Regions from separate parts of the Homo sapiens genome. Here all the other regions are linked to region 6. Evidence: promoter capture Hi-C in 16 types of primary human blood cells and fetal thymus (Javierre and others, 2016). All regions are on one chromosome and are shown on one strand. Each heading gives the region's core, a stretch centred on a gene start or on the middle of the fragment in contact. The rest is flanking DNA. Distances are from core to core; before and after follow the strand shown.

Region 1 (2,700 bases), core at 151-2,650, 680 kb after region 6:
GCTGCCATACCTGGCAGACCTAACTTCTTTGTGCACATGTTATATGGGTTACTTCACATGCATGAATTCTTTTAAAGATTTTAGCTTATCTGTAAGGAATATACTATATACTATGAGCATTTAAAAATACTTTTCCTGTATCAAATACAATGTTTATTGTAGAAAATCAAAATATGGATGAGCCAAAAGAAAATAAGAACATCCCTTATTTAAGAACATTTAAACATCTTAATAAGAACATTTCCATATGCCCAGGGCTACTGTGCTGCTTTAGTCTTCTGCTCTAAAGTTATTCTGCAGGGTATTCTGTCCATAGCTAATATTGGGAGAAAGGCAATCTAATTAAGCTTATTTACATTAATGAGTATTGGTAATGTGTTACAGTACAGAGAACCTAGGATTTGGAATCAGAACCTGAATCTTAGCAGTGTGCTCAGCCTTCACTACATTTATGACCTTTGGTAATTTAGTTGACCTCAATGATTCTCATTTATAAATGATTTCTCATTTATAAAATGGGAATAATAAAACTTGATTATCAGGGGATTGGTGAGTGTGAAATAAGATAGAAAATGCACAGTAAATGTAGTTTGAAATATGTAAAAAAAAAATGTGTACTAGGGATCATTGATAATGAGTGATGGACTTCTAATTCTTACATTATTTGCTTTTTGAAGTTTCTTGGTCACCCATATTGACCACAGATTGATAGAATCTTAGCTGTTCATTTAAAAAATATATTTTAGAGAATGAAAAAGGGAAAAAGAGTTGGTGTAGGAGTCACTTTGGTAAGCACGCTGACATAGCCTCAGTTTATATACTCAGGGATGCCTTCCTAGAGCTGTTCCTGATTCTCTCTTTCTTTGAATCCACCTGATCTCTAAAAGCTAACTCTATGCCCAAAGGTCAGTCAGCCTCTCCTTATGCTACTCTGCTCCTGCTGCGTGATAGTTGAGGGTAGGAAGGCTTTTGAGTTTAGAGCAGCGTTTCTGAAGCTTTATTGCTTATAAGAATCATCCAAGGATCTTGCTATAAAATGCAAGTTCTAGTTCAGATCATCTGGTATGGTACCCGAGATTCTGAATTTTTACAAACTTCATGGCCTTGCCTCTGATCTGAATATTACACTTTGAGTGGAGTTAAAAAACATGAATGATGTTTTTTATGTGACTTTTTATTTCTAAAGCTATTTGTAACTTAGGGTATTACTCATATTGTTATTACATATACCCTTTAAGATTTCATGTTAATTTCTTCTATTTAATACAGTCTTGTTCTCTGTGTAAAGCCTCAAACTCATTAGTTGCCCCAGGGTAATAATGAGGGTAACCAGTACTAGCATAAAGTGGTTACACAGGAGAACCAATACCAAAGGAAAATGTAACTGATAGTAGCAAGGTTTTTCTTTCATTCTTAAAACTTTGTCAACATCTCTCACTAATAGTAAATTAAATGTGAAATTTAAAATGAAATTACTAGATATACAAATTTGTTACATTTTCACCATGTTACAGAGTATTCATGTAAAAATCACTTATATTTAATAGCCAGTGTATTCATATTGTTTTAAATTAGGATTTTGTCTTAGGAGAGTTATCAAGTTCTATTTATTTCTGTGATACAAAAAATATTCAAATTTATATTATAGAACTCTAAGGAAATGAATACCGGATTTAGTCAAGGCAGAAATACCAAGACACAAGGGGGCACTGTCTTACCATAATCTGACTGATTTTAATTTAGCTTTTTGTTTGCTGTGAATGTCTTTCGTTTCCAAAATTCTGTCTTCTTTGTAGTTAATCATGAAAGCTTAAATATTATACATTCCTCTAAAGCTGTAATACTTAAATCAACTGAGCTTTCAGATTTCACAAATCAAATGTGCTCTTAGCAACATTTGGGAACCTTTCATTGTATTTGGCGTGAAATTGGGAAGAGTGGATGATAATTAGAGATGGTGTAACACACTGTTAGTGTTTAGGTCTGCGGTGGGGAAAATCACTGTAAAAATAATTCAGTTGATTTGGAGAAATATAGTGCCTCTGTTAGGCAGAAATGAGTTGGGATAAAGATTGAACTGTTATAAGCTGCAGCTGCATTTGCCATAAAATACCAAGTTGGTGCTGATGAATGTTTTGTTTTTATTGTCATGGAAACTTGGAGCTGGAGAATGGATATTCTATTCATTTGGGAAAATAGCAGTGCCTTGCATAAAACATAAGGGCCTTCCAAAGCAGTTCCTTAAATAGATATTGGCTGAATATAATCCAAAAAGTTGAGGAAGTAAAAGTGAAATAAATGCAATCATTTCTGGATCACTTCTTCCATTCTCAGTACTAACAATGTAACTATATATTCAGTTATTAAGCTTATTACTTCTAGAAAGTTTAATTCCAGTAAGCATGGTATTTGTTTAACATCAGTGTAATAGTTATCTAACCCTTTAGAGCTATCTTTATATTTATTTCCTTAGTTGTAAGATATCTTTTGGGAACTCTAAACCTATATCCTATTAAACAACTACTTCTGATCCCCAAATAGTTTGTTTTTTAAATTAATCCTGCTTATCTGCTATAATCTTTCATTGAAATATTTTAAAGCATTTTATACTTTTTTTAAAGCTTTACCCAAAATAAACTCTTACCATAAAAGCACTAAGTGAGATCTTTGCATGTTCTAGGGAAAAAAAACAGAAAGTAT
Region 2 (2,700 bases), core at 175-2,674, 810 kb after region 6:
ATAAAATTCACTAATTTTAAATATACAGTCTTTATTATGTATGTTAAAATGTATATATTTTGTCATTTTGACAAGTGTAAAAGTTATTTAACAGCCACCTTATTCATAATGTAGAATCCACCTCAAAAAATGTCCTTATTCCCCTTGGTAGTGAGTCCCTTTCCTCCATCCCGTGGTCCTTGGCAACCATTGATCTGCTTTCTGCTACCATAGTTTTGTGTTTTCTAGAAGTTCATGTAAATGGAATTGTAGAGTATGTATGTGATCTTTCATGACTGGCTTTTTTTACTTAGCATAATCTGCAACTTGATTTTAGATACAACATAATGGGCCATTGTCTGAATGTACTATGATTTATTGAACCCATTTGCTATTATTAAATCCCAATATGTTGCTAATGTAAATAATTCTGTGATCATCTCCCTTTACATAAATTTCTATGTACATCTCTAATTATATCCTTAGGATGAATTTCCAAAGTTGGAATTGCTGATCAAGAGGTAATAAACATTAAGGCTCTGGATTCGTTTTGCCAATTTGCCCTTCAAAAAATTGTGTCATTTCTCCCATGTTTTATAATTATCACCACTGATGATAATTTATCTCTAGAACAAAAAAATAGCCGTTTTCTGGGATACTTCTCTCAATCTATATCTTAAGCTTTCCTTCTTTCTTTTCGCCAGGTAACCGCCAGAGTATATTTAAGAGCATAGGCTAAGCAAATTATACATTCATGTACTAGGGGGGCTTTTAAACTGTAATGTGTATATCAGTCATCTGGGAAACATGTTAAAATGCAGCTTCTAATTCAGTAAGATGGGAGCAGAACCTGAGAGATTCTACTCCAGTGTTTTTAACAAGCTCCCAGTAATGCTGATGCTGCTGATTTGTGGATCACATTTTGTGTAGCAAGGTGCTAAAATATTATGTAGTTGTTGATCTTATATTTATGAAGAGTTTCTGGAGAAATCTTTATGCTATAATGTGCAATGAAAAATGCACTTAAGAGTGTATGTAGTATATTTCAACTGTATGACTGTATATGTGCATTGAAGAAAAATTTGAAAGGAATATACAGTCATGTTAACTGCACCTATTACAACTGTTTACAAGATTTATAGGTGGTTTTCATTTCCATCTTTACGCTTTATAATTGTGCACAATCAGCATATCTTACTTTATAGGAAACCTAATAGACCTTGTTGTTACTTTATTTTCTAGCAGTACTAATGAAGATGAGGATTTGAACCCTGAACAGAAGATAGAAAGGGAGAAGGAGAGGCGGATGGCTAACAATGCCAGAGAACGCTTACGCGTGCGGGATATTAATGAAGCATTCAAAGAGCTTGGCCGAATGTGTCAGCTTCACTTGAAGAGTGAAAAACCCCAAACAAAACTCCTTATTCTTCATCAAGCCGTGGCAGTCATCCTTAGTCTAGAACAGCAAGTCAGAGGTAAGTAGGTTCAGCCGAGATGTATAACTGTTCTGCTTCAGATGGGCAGACATTTCTGTTTACAGTTGCTCTTCTGCTTGGAGAAGTTGTTTGTTATTTCTCCCAGTACTTCTTCTACTGTATCATCAGGGTCGTTTTTCCTGTAATTCTCACTTCTGTCTCACTGTATCACCCAATATCTGTGGGCTGAGTGTTCTCCACCAATAGAGAGTAATTCTGTGAAGCAAAGCAGATAACAAACAGCCTCTGCCTGCTGCTCAGCAATAGTGCTTTGTGTCTCTTTGCTCTGGTTGCTTCTGATCTCTCAACCATTAAATTTCCCTGCCTGGACCTGCCCTCCTCCCTGCTCTTTATGTCTTTCCTACTTCTCTGTATTCATTTTCTTGCCTGCTCTACTTTGGAGTATCTACCGTGCCCTGCTGGTTAATAGGATGCCTTGTTATCATCCCTTCTGCCTTTGCCAGATACCTTTACACCCATGTCAATAAGGTCTCAGGGCTTCTTTGTTGACCCCAGACCAGGAACACCAAGAACTTTTTGGGCTAACATACATCGGCATGCCTCTGTGTCCTTAAGGGCAAAAGAGCTCACCCAGTGCTGACTCAGTTTCATTTTTCAGGAAGTTTGTTGCAGTTTTGAAGAAACTTTGAAACTTCATTTGTTCAACATGTATTTATTGCATACCTCCTCTGTTCCAACCAGCTGTGTCCTAGGCCCTGGGTTATCAAATAATAGAAGCTTCTTATCTTTAAGAGGTTTTACCATCAAGCTTGAGTTTCTCCATATACTTATATATTGTCTTAAAATATCCTAAGCCTTTTTGCAAGGAATTCATAGATGTGGCCCTAGGTTCCAGATCTGACCACTAGTCTCTCTCAGAGCAATTCTTTCGATTTTGTGTGAAGACGGTTCAAAAAAGAATAGGGTGGGCAGATGCTTGAAAACTACAGCCATGGAGCCTCAGCATTAGATTACAGAATGAGTACTCTTTCTTAGGAAAACCAGAGTTAGAGAACTTGAACAAACTTTCAGAAATATATACAGTAGTAGTTAATTCATCCACTTCCCTCCAATATATTTAATGAATAAGAATGAGGGATAGATCATTTTGTGTATAATCAACCTAATGTTAAAAATGGATACTTGCTCCTCTTCTCCCAAGGTCCTTGAAATATCTGTGGAGTATAAATGTTAATGAAACCTAATCTTCAAGTAATTATAGACTCCCTTGTGATATCCATAAGGA
Region 3 (2,700 bases), core at 50-2,549, 530 kb after region 6:
TATGATTCTGAAATACTGCTGAGCTTTAAAAACTTTAGCAGCTTTGACCAGAACACCTACGTTAAAATTTCTTTATAACTCTTCAGAATTTTTTTCTTTTTCTTTTTTTTTTTGAGACAGGGTTTTGCTCTATCACCTAGGCTGGAGAGTGAAGTGGCATAATCATGGCTCACTGGAGCCTCTACCTTCCAGGCTCAAGCAATGCTCCTACCTCAGCCTCCACAGTAGCTGGGGCCACAGATGTGCACCACTGCACTTGGCTAATCCTTAAATTTTTTTGTAGAGATGGGGTCTCACCATGTTGCCCAGGCTGCTGTCAAACTCCTGGGCTTAATCAGTCCTCCCACCTCAGCCTCCCAAAGTGCTGACATTACAGACGCGAGCCACTGTGCCTGGCCAGTCTTCAGATTTGTTAACAAATCTCAGGGGTTTGCTTTAGTCTCCCAAGCTCGCCTTACGTAAATGTGTCATGTAATGAAAGATGATATTCCCAACCCACCATCTCACATATTCAGTTGATTTTCACTAACCGTGAAGGATTTGCACTGATTTATGCATCCAATTCTCTCCTGATTTCTTTACTTTTCCTCCTCTTTTCTCTTTCCTCACCAGTCTTCCGTTTCCATCTAATGACTAGTGTCCCACATTGGACAAGATAAAATGGTTGACCAGTTAGAGACATAGGAAAAAGTGGAATATTGAATTTGCATTGAAAGGGCTGAACTTGTGACCTTATGTTATCTTCCATATAATTCTAATTTCTACAATATAAGGTTTTAATTTACTCAGTTCAGAAAATCTAATTGTTTGACAGTAAAGTTTGGACCTATTTATATAAAGTTTGGAGGAAATATGATCTTATCAATATGCACTATGGAAAATGTCCTTTTTAGTCTGTGAATTTAGAGCTATACCTACTGCTTGAATGAAGATGGTCTAAAGATTTAAAAGACATTTAGGGTTAATAAGTTTTCATGGCAAAACATTTAACATTTTTAAACTAAATTCAGATGAGTTACTCATTTTTTGTGTACCTTAATTCCTTCCAAATACTCTTCTGTCAGAACTACAAAGTTAAATCTCAATTATAGTGCCCTTTTTTTTATTTAGGGAAATAATTATCATCATTGATTAATACATTGTACAAGGGTTAACTGTCTTTTAACCATCAGGGTATAGAAAAAGTAAGTTGGTTAAAACAACTTTTAAGTTTATTATGGAGATAAACACTATTGTCATATGATTCTTTAGATTTCCTTAAAAATTGATCTCCTATGCCAGGCACAGTAGCTCATGCCTGTACCCTAGTACTTTAGGAGGCTGAGGTGGGAGGATCACTTGAGACCAGCAGTTCCAGATCAATCTTGGCAATACAGTGAGATCGTGTCTCTACTAAAAAAAAGCCAAAAAGAAAAAAAAAAAACCTAGTTGGGCATGGTGATGTATGCTTCTGGTCCCACTTACTCAGGAGGCTGAGGTGGGAGGATGATGTGAGCCCAGGAGGTTGAGGCTGCAGTAAGCTGTGATCATTACACTGTAGTCTAGCCTGGGTGACAGAGTGAGACCCTGTCTCACAGTAAATAAATAAATAAAAATTTAAGCCTTGCTTCTAAATCCAGTCTCCTTTAATTAAGTTTTATTGCCACATTCTTTCTGCTTTTAATTTTTTGTTGTTGTTGTTAAAACTAAATTTTACAGCTTTTGTTTCTCACGTAGCAGCCAGGGTTTGAAAGAGATTAAGGGTCATTCTTCTGAAATAAAACATGTCCTGAATAATTTTAATTTGAGTCTACTATTGAAAGTCACATAACATTTTGTTGAATGGTGATTCTTACCTAATCACCTGTAAATGGATCACAGACACAAATACCTAGTGATGTGCTATACATTATGCCATTGTGAATTTTATAAAGGCTAAAGAGTGAGGAAGTAGAGTTCTTCTTTTCTGATAGTGCACTACAAAATTTTGAGGACCTTGCAGTGATCATCTGTAGTCATAAAAGCTGTTTAGCCAAAACATGATTGGATTTTATTAATAGTGTTACGGCTATCTTTTCATGAGTTAGTTACCATGTGAATTAGTGCAATTTTGGTGAATAGAAGAATGCTTAGGACTATTGTCTTATTTTAAATTACCGATTATCTTTTTATAAGGATATTTGAGGAGTTCATGTGTCAGTGAGAATTGAGCAACTGAGAAGAAGTTAGAGGTTAGTTCCCTTTTCCAAGTATGATGGATTAACCACATGCACCCCGTCTTTCTCACTGAATGCATCTATAAAACCTAGGCAAAATGGATGGAACTCTTCTGGACTCTGCAGAATAAATAATACCAGGTGGGATATGAATGAAGACTAGCATTCAGAATACCATCTCACTGGCTGTGAGTTTACCATTTTTTTTTTCTTCCAGCATCCCCAGACAACTTAACACAATCTAAAACCTAAAAGTGGGGCAATCTGAAACAGAAAGCTCTAAAAGACGCCTGCTACTTCTGGCTCAAGGAACAGGAAAGATAACTGCTAAGTTCAGAATGAAAATTTTGTCATTTTTTTTGTCTTCTCCATCTCTCATGCCCTATTCCCAAGCAACCGTGTGGTAATGGCAGCAGAGACTACAGCAGGAGCCCATGGTCAAAACTGAGGGATGAGAACTTTCCTCTCCAGTTGACAAATCCCATTGCTTTTTCTTTTTCCTTCT
Region 4 (2,700 bases), core at 112-2,611, 660 kb after region 6:
CACGATCTCAGCTCACTGCAATCTCCACCTCCCCAGTTCAAGTGATTCTCCTGCCTCAGCCTCCTGAGTAGCTGGGACTGCAAGTATGAACCACCATGACTGGCTAATGGTGGTTTTGTTTTTTTGTTTGTTTGTTTGTTTTTTTGTTTTTTTGGCAGCAGGTCGGTGGGTGGGCAGTGTTTGTAGAGACAGGGTCTCACATTGTGCCCAGGCTAGTCTCAAACTCCTGATGTGAAGCAATCCTCTCCGCTCAGCCTTCCAAACCGCTGGAATTATAGGCATGAGCCACCGTACCCGGTCCACAGCTTTTTTTTTTTAAGTATCTTCTTCATACTAGATACGATACTGTATGCTATTTTTGAGACTCCGTAGTCAAGTATAATTGTAAACCAGCTAGTAAAATTGAAGTTTCTTTTTTCATCCTTGTGTTATTTGGAAACAAAATTAAGAAATAGAGTCTCTTTTCTTCCTCCTACTTTATTCAACAGCCCTCACTCCATATGGATACTGTATACTTTGGATTTTAGAATATTTTAACTCTTAAAGGAATGGGCAGTGGAATCACAATATCACTGATTTAGCAGATCCTTGGTAAATATTCGTCATGTGATCCTGTGGCAATCCTAAATAGGAATTCACCTCTTTCTCTTAAGCTTTCCCATAGTACTTTATATCTCTTTAAAAAAATCAGTTGTTTACATTACTACATTGAAAGTTTTTTGGACCACCAACCTTGTTTCTGTCTCAGAACCTTAGCTAAATGCAGGGTATTCAAATATCCCATCCTTATTTCCTGTCATTTCTTGTCATGAGTCTTAGGTCCTACTACTATTTACCTGCTTATAATTACACATTTAGTTTGAAGTGTTTTATGTTTGCATGCTTTTCTTTCACATTATTCCCCCTAACTGAAATGCCCTTCATACATTTTTTTGCCTAATTAAATCTGTCAGTTCATTTATCAGTACTTACTGCATTTCTGCCATTTGCTAGATACTGCGTTGACTACTCGGATGTACATTGGTAATGGAAGCATTTATGACTTTGCCGTCCTGGAGTTTTCAACCCATGCTTGTCTTTTCTAGAAAGCCTTGCCTAAACTCCCAACTTGGATTCAGTGCTCCCTTGCTGTTTTGTCTGTGGCTCCCTGTATATGTTATGCTGAAATTTGCTGTTTGTGTACACTTGCTTTTAGGTTGGAGTTTTCTTGAAGATAGGATGTCTTGATTCATTTCTTCCCTTGGCCCTATCCAATATCTGATATATATCAAGTGCTCAATAATTGTTTGTTGAACTGCTTTTAAACTGTAGATAGATTACATGATCCCTGCCATTGATGAGCTCTCAGGACTTACAGTTCTGTGTATGTTTTGGCTTTTGTTATAGTTGTTTGAATGCATATCTGTCTCTCCTGTTAGGTTGCCAGCTTCTTGAAGAATAAAATTTTATCAGCATATTTTATTTATATTATATGGACAATTATATTTCTATATTTTTTTGCTATGCCCCACCATATCTAATTTTACATATGGGACCTGTAAGATTTTGATCCTTCTCCTAAAATGTTTTTGGTAAATGCTGATCTCCTGTGAGAGCCACCTGAGTGAGGAATCTCAGTGTGTAGGAAAGTGAGACATTCTTTAATGAGAGACTGGAAGAGTTTGGTTGTTAAGTGGGCTCAGAAAATGTCTGTTGTGGCAAGCCTGTGGCCCCATCTACTCAGGATACTGAGGTTGGAGGATCACTTGGACCCAGGAGATTGAGGCTATAGTGAGCCATGATTGCACCTCTGCACTCTAGCCTGGGTGAAAAAGTGAGACTGTCTAAAAAAAAGAAAAGAAAGGAAAGGAAAATGCCTGTTGTCTCTCCTCTGCAAATGAGCTGATACTGAAAGGTAATCTGGAACAGGAGTTTTATGGATATCTGTTTTTGAAACTGAAAGAAGTAGCATTTTGGCATGATCTGGAGCTGACATACATTCCAGAGGCTATATAGATGATGACATCTACCAGTGAGGCTACATGACTGACGTAGAAACTGAGGTTCTTTCGCTAGTCTAGGACAAAGATGAAGCTTAACTTCGCTGATGGATAGAACCAGACTTTGTCACTGTTTAAATAATACATTTTTGGTTGTTTTCTAAATATGAATTCGGTTCACTCTGAAATTAGAGCAGTTCCATGAGTTCACTGAATTTATTTGAACAATAGTGTTTGCCATGGTTTGAATGATGGTATCTGCTCCAAAATTCATGTTGAAATTTAACCCTCAATGCAACAGTGTTAAAAGGTGTAGTTGGCCTGTGGGAGGTTATTAAATTATGACAGAGCTTCACTATCATAAATAGGATTAACGCCTTATGAAGTGGCTCAAGGTCGAAAGGCGCACCTTCTTGCCCTTCCACTCTTCTACCCTGTGAGGACACAGCGTTTATCTCTTGCCCTTCTGCCATTTGAAGATACAGTATTGCTCCCCTCAGAGGAGGCAGCAATAAAGTGCCATGTTGGAAGCAGAGAGCAACCCATATCAGATGCCAGTCCTGCTAGCCCCTTAATCTTAGACTTCTCAGTCTCTAGAACCATGAGAAATAAATTTGTATTGTTTGTAAATTACCGATTCTATGGAATTTTTGTTACAGCAGCACAAATGGTCTGACAGTGTTCTTCTTTAAAAAGGAATAATGTTCATGGATACAGCTCT
Region 5 (2,700 bases), core at 21-2,520, 750 kb after region 6:
CTCCAAGTTACGTATTTTGTCAGGGTCCTCTGGCATTTTCACTAGTCATTTTGCTAGTGTGTACAATGATTCCTATCTTGCTGTAAAACTTGGTGATTTTTTTATATTGTTGAACTAGGTGACATGAATATTGAGTCAGATCACATAATCTTAGAGTAACACATAAGTGATTATGTAGCGTTGTGGGTGGAAACAATTCTGGATAAAAAGTGCATGACAGTTCAGAACTACTGTGCAGGCAGCCTGTCTGAAATCAGGTTTAAAAATTGGCCCTGTCTCCAGCTGACTCGTTTTGTCAGACTGAGTCATAGGATTAACCCTTGACATGTTCCTTTAAAAAAAAAAAAAAAAAAAGCAAAGATTAAACAACTGCATTTACTAAAGCAGCACTTGATCCATCTATATGCATTTTTTTCCTGTAATATGATTCTCCTTAGGACAAGAAATTGTGCTACAGCTGTTGCATAGATTAAATTAATTTTTAAAAAATTGGGAGCAGAGAAAAAAAGATTTTATTATACAAGATAATTTATAATGGCAATCAAGCAATGACCATCTACATCAAACAGTTTTAGTTTTTTGGGGGGTAAGGCAGACTTCAAGAAAAATGCTGTTTTGGAGCGACAAACTTAAAAGACTTTTCCATAGCATACAAGTAGAATATAGGGGCATTTTATGTAGATTACCACCAGTTTTGTTGATGATTTACTGTTTTTGAAGAATGAGATTTTAATATCATATAATTATAGATACAGGCATAGAGTTTTGTTGTTGTTGTTTTTTTAAGTTTTTATATCTATGCTCAATTTAGGCAGTAGTGTATACCAAGTGACTACGGTTTGTATTGGCAGGGGAGGTCTTACCTACACATGTACGAGTTTTATATTTATGTTTTTTAGGAGAACAATGAAAAGTAGAAGCAAAAGCTTTTAATTAGTTACTCAACTCTCTTTACAAATTATGTTTCACATTCAGGTTTCATGTTTAACACTAAATCTTACTTAGGTGTTTAATAAACTGATTAGGTTTGTGCAAAAGTAACTGTGTTTTTTTCCATTAAAGAAATTTGATTATACTATTTGGCTTTTACAGTGAATTTCTTTTTTATCTGAATGTATGTTTATTCTCTTCAGATTATCATATAATTGCCTCTAAAATAAAGAACTGGTGTTAAAATATTAAAATTTTCATTGTGCTTTAATAACCAAGGTTGCTTAGTTGGGTTTACATTATGATGTTTGTTTTATCAAACAACATAGTAAGTACCCTCTCTGTTTTCTGCCCGGCATCAGGGAAATGGGCTTAACTGTCATAGGTGGATGTTTTTTAACCAATATAAGAAAGTTTTCTCAGATTGAAGCGATGATTATAAAAATGTTGAAGTATTGTCAGTGCTTTGTGGCTCCCCTCTTCTCCCTATTCCTCCTCAATTTCTATTGAAAAGTAAGTGTTATTTTTAATAATTAATAGAAAAAGAAAATTTTGATTCGATTTTGTTTGATTTTCCTTTTTTTTTGTTTTGAGAGTAGCCGATCTGTCAGTAGAGAAAGACTGTGTATGGAAGACTAAAATTTACTTGAATGGTTTTAAGGCATGCTATTGTTAATTGTGAATCAAAGCTTTTTACACAGTTCTCCAAGGATTGAAATGGGTCTTTGTGGTCTCTCAGGAGGGAGGAAGTTACAAACCACTCCGCAGACTGGCATTTTAATAGTCTGCTGTACAGCGATGTTCTTTTGCAGCTGCTGCTTAGCCTTTTCTATATCTGGAGAGTGTGGGGAGGTTTTATTGTTGTTCCAATACTATCAGCTTTTAAAACATTGTGAAGTTAGTTGCCCTTATTGTCTGATTTAGTTTCGTTACTATAATTTGATCAATATGTTAGTAAAAATGAGGTTGGGGGGATAGGGGGTCCCTTATAGTATATTCCTAGAATATTTCACAGAGGATTTCTGCTTCATGAAAGGTACCTTTAAAAAAAGTGATGTGCCCCCTTTTGCAGCTTGTGAGCTCTCCTCTGATTAATACAATCCCGTTAGAACCTACAAGGCATAGAGGGAAGGATAGTACAAAGAAGTTTTGATGAAGGGAAATGACACAAAAAGGGAAAGTTGCTATTCTGTTTTTCCAGGTTGTAATTACAGCAAACGATTGATTGGAAAACATTTAAATAGCAAAACGTGTCTGTGTAAGAGACACATGTTTTTGTAGACAACTTTTAAAACCTTTTGACTTCGAAGTATGAGTTAGAAATGTCTGTAAGACATTTATTCCCACACTTCTTATTTTTCCTTTCTGAGAAATGTGAGCATTAGCATAAAAATATGAATATACAAAGTATTAAGAACAATAATAAACTTAGAGGAAAGACTTATAGGAAACTGTTTAGTTTATTCTCTCATACTTTATATGAAAGATGTGTGAATTTTTTTTAAGAACAGTCCTATTGCAGGACATTATAAACTTTTGATTGGTGTTGTGTATGAAGAATTCAAGGAGCTTTATAACTGAAAATCTGTATTATTAAGTGTTTCCATTTTAAAAACAGGTAATTTAGTTTCAAGATAATCTATCTGATTTTTGGACTAAGCTTTTTAATAAAATGTGTTCCTTTCAGTTTTCCTCAACATAATTTTTGTAGCTTAAAGTATGGTTTGTTCTAGCTAGTTAAGAGGTATTTGCATGATGGTCTGCTTTCTC
Region 6 (2,700 bases), core at 98-2,597:
AAAAAGTAAAAGCAACTTACTCAAGGGTCCGTAGCTAAGGTATAGCAGTAGTAGGATTCAAAGACAGGCCGGCTCCAGAAACCCAGGTCTTTACGATTACACCGAGCTGAGGCACAATCAGGCATCACTTACCTGCTGCTGTTGTTTATCTACTCATTTCCAGCATTAACAGCTGACTTTCATCGTTTCCAAGGTGCAAAATGAAAAAAAAAGTAACAATGAATAGTAAAACTTACCTTTTGAATGGCCTCTTCCATATCCAACTCAAATTGTTCATTTTGTAATAATCTGAGAAATTGCTTGCGCTGAACACGGTTATCATTTTCATTCTGCACCATTTGATTCCTGATTTGACTGTTGACGTTTTTTAGAGCTTGGACATGTAATTTTTTGCAGTAGTTTTCATCTACTAATTTCTGATGCCTTTCACTACAGCTCAAATTTCTCCTTTTGGAACCCTACGATGGAAGAAAAAAAAAGATGCATATTTTGATATTCCAAAATCTAATTTTAAAAAATGTATTGATATAAACCTTAGTAAGAAAGGATACGAAGAGCCTGGCTTCCTTCCTAAATTCAAAGGAGTATACCGAATAAAAAGTAAACGTGGTAAATATGTTCACATATCGATTAAATAGGTACTGTTATTATTACCTATTTTATAGATGAAACATGAAAAGTAACTTTACCCAAGGTTCTGCAGCTAATAAATAGCTGTGCTAGGATTAATCGCACCCTACAGACCCAGATCTTTACTACCACCAGGGAATTTCTCCTCCCCTCATTCCACCCACCACCACCACCACCACGACTACCACCACAGGGCCATAAAGTGCTGTTCAGAAGCTGGTCAGATTTTCCTAACATAAATGTAATAGGTCAATTCGCCGCTATTTATCAATTCGCTTTCTCCTACACTTTTATATCTACTTATTTCTTCAGAGGTTCTATTGGGCAGATTTAAAGATGTATTTAATACACTATGCGAAAAGTGCCAAAAAAGCTGGAAACCACCGCGAGCGTCCCTTCTAATAGCACCTGAAGCCTCCGAAAGCAAATACAAGTTCCCCAATTAATGACCAGATTAAGCACTTAAAATCCTTTTTTAGAAGCAGATGAGCGCCAAACTAGAATTAAATCAACAATAAACAAGTAGTTTCAAGTCCCCCAACTGGCTCACCATCTTGGCTGACGAAAAATACCCCCTCTCGTGGGACCGCGGCCACCACCTCCCGCCGCAAACGCAGCAGCCAGCAGCCCCAAGGAGCGCACCTGGCTGCGCGCGCTCGGGTGTTTACGCGGCGTCTTGGCAACGGTGGAGCTGCGCGCCCTCCGCTCGACCAAAAGTGACCCACGCAGAACGTGGCCTCCCATTGGACGCGATAAGATACAATCGGCATTGAGCTTCTTAGGACCAGGGCAGGAGGGCTACTTCTATAGGTCTAAACTAGAAAAGCGGGAAGTTCAGACTGTGGCCTGACCCAAGCACTTTGCAGTGGGCTAGGGAAGCTCGATTTCCCTCCAGCGGCCGAACTGTGGTTTCAGTGGGTTTGGGAGCCAAGTTCGGGACTGTGGAGACTGCGCACAGAGAAATACGCAAACTACTGCCTAATGCATGGAGCCGAAGGAAATTTCCACGCATGGAGCATCCCGCACACTAAGTGCCTAGTCAGCCAGGTCTCTGCTAGGGACGATGACTGGTTTAATCCTCAGCAATGGGAGTCCAGGTCGCTGTCCCCTTTGCTGGGTTGTGAGGCACTGAGGGTAGCACGAGCTTCCAGCAGCCTTCACTTCACCCCCCCGCCCCCCCCCCCCCCCCGCAGAAGCTGCTGGTAAATTTTGGGACTAAAATCTATGAGCCACATGAATCTTACTCTGCTATGTGGTCCAGGTACCAAGAGAGAGCACGTTACATGATGGCAGGATGTTGATCTGGTTCATTCCATAGGCAGGTTAGACACTAAAGTCCATTTTAAATGGGAAGTTTAAGAATGATAATGGATCAGAGAAATTAGATATACTGATTTTAGAAATGATACATTCAGAGAAATCTTGTCAACACTAAAATATTTGTATAAGGTGATTAGTGGTATAACTTTGTGTTATTCTAATTTGGAGTCCGTCTTCTGTAGCAATATGTCTGCTTAAAGATTAATAACAAATGGGACTTGCAGTTTCAGTGCTGACGTGTAAAAGCTTGGAAGTTGTCACCCCATCCTTACAACCAGATCAAAACAACTAAAAATCAGCGACTTCTCTTGGTTCCATCATACAACTGAGGTCGCTCGTCTCTCTGTCCTTTGGTCATTTATCCCGTGGTTGCATATCTATGTTGTCTCTAGTACTCCACTCATTGCCATCACTGTTTGAGAGAAATGGAGAGAAGGCGTAAACCTGCCCTCTGGGTGTTCTGTGTAAATTGATCTGGAATGGAGCAAAGCAGGCAGCCTGCTATAAATTTCTCTTCTTGGCATATCCATCTCCGCAAAGGGTTGGGCACTGTATAGAAGAGACAGGAGACAGGCATGGGTTCAGGGTTGAACAGGGTATAACACATTCAATAGAGTGTGGGGTTTAATTTGTTAATTCCTAATAGTGAAATAGTGACATTGCAAAGTATTTCAGCAAACATGTATGTTTTTTACTGTTTACTTCTCGAAATGAAGACTTTCGTCTCTAAAGGGAACTTCAGTTATAATT

The links. Contacts are between HindIII fragments. The CHiCAGO score rates a contact against its expected background, and 5 or more counts as called.
Region 1: a contact is called between a fragment that was not itself captured here and the fragment with the promoter of MNS1 in region 6, in 1 of 17 cell types (fetal thymus). The highest score is 6.7, in fetal thymus.
Region 2: a contact is called between a fragment that was not itself captured here and the fragment with the promoter of MNS1 in region 6, in 2 of 17 cell types (fetal thymus and total CD4 T cells). The highest score is 6.6, in fetal thymus.
Region 3: a contact is called between a fragment that was not itself captured here and the fragment with the promoter of MNS1 in region 6, in 1 of 17 cell types (fetal thymus). The highest score is 5.1, in fetal thymus.
Region 4: a contact is called between a fragment that was not itself captured here and the fragment with the promoter of MNS1 in region 6, in 1 of 17 cell types (fetal thymus). The highest score is 6.5, in fetal thymus.
Region 5: a fragment that was not itself captured here is called in contact with the fragment with the promoter of MNS1 in region 6 in 1 of 17 cell types (fetal thymus); the score reaches 5.3 in fetal thymus.

The regions. Positions count from the first base shown.
Region 1 is chr15:57,144,886-57,147,585 of GRCh38, forward strand. The region is part of intron 5 of TCF12 (transcription factor 12); the gene reads left to right. Among named protein-coding and RNA genes, the nearest start is that of SNORD13D, 130 kb to the right of the region's middle. The HindIII fragment of the contact is 814 bases long and covers 994-1,807 here.
Region 2 is chr15:57,271,809-57,274,508 of GRCh38, forward strand. It overlaps TCF12 (transcription factor 12), which reads left to right. Exons shown (of 21, transcript NM_207037.2): 19 at 1,222-1,454. Among named protein-coding and RNA genes, the nearest start is that of SNORD13D, 5.5 kb to the right of the region's middle. The HindIII fragment of the contact is 1,532 bases long and covers 659-2,190 here.
Region 3 is chr15:56,990,698-56,993,397 of GRCh38, forward strand. All of the region lies in intron 3 of TCF12 (transcription factor 12), which reads left to right. Among named protein-coding and RNA genes, the nearest start is that of TCF12, 73 kb to the left of the region's middle. The HindIII fragment of the contact is 3,108 bases long and covers 1-2,700 here.
Region 4 is chr15:57,119,153-57,121,852 of GRCh38, forward strand. The region is part of intron 5 of TCF12 (transcription factor 12); the gene reads left to right. Among named protein-coding and RNA genes, the nearest start is that of SNORD13D, 160 kb to the right of the region's middle. The HindIII fragment of the contact is 1,420 bases long and covers 652-2,071 here.
Region 5 is chr15:57,216,229-57,218,928 of GRCh38, forward strand. All of the region lies in intron 8 of TCF12 (transcription factor 12), which reads left to right. Among named protein-coding and RNA genes, the nearest start is that of SNORD13D, 61 kb to the right of the region's middle. The HindIII fragment of the contact is 693 bases long and covers 925-1,617 here.
Region 6 is chr15:56,463,790-56,466,489 of GRCh38, forward strand. MNS1 (meiosis specific nuclear structural 1) reads right to left here and starts at 1,348. Exons shown (of 10, transcript NM_018365.4): 1 at 1,181-1,348; 2 at 237-458. The coding sequence starts at 1,183. RefSeq lists a silencer at 1,278-1,527. The HindIII fragment of the contact is 3,006 bases long and covers 1-2,194 here.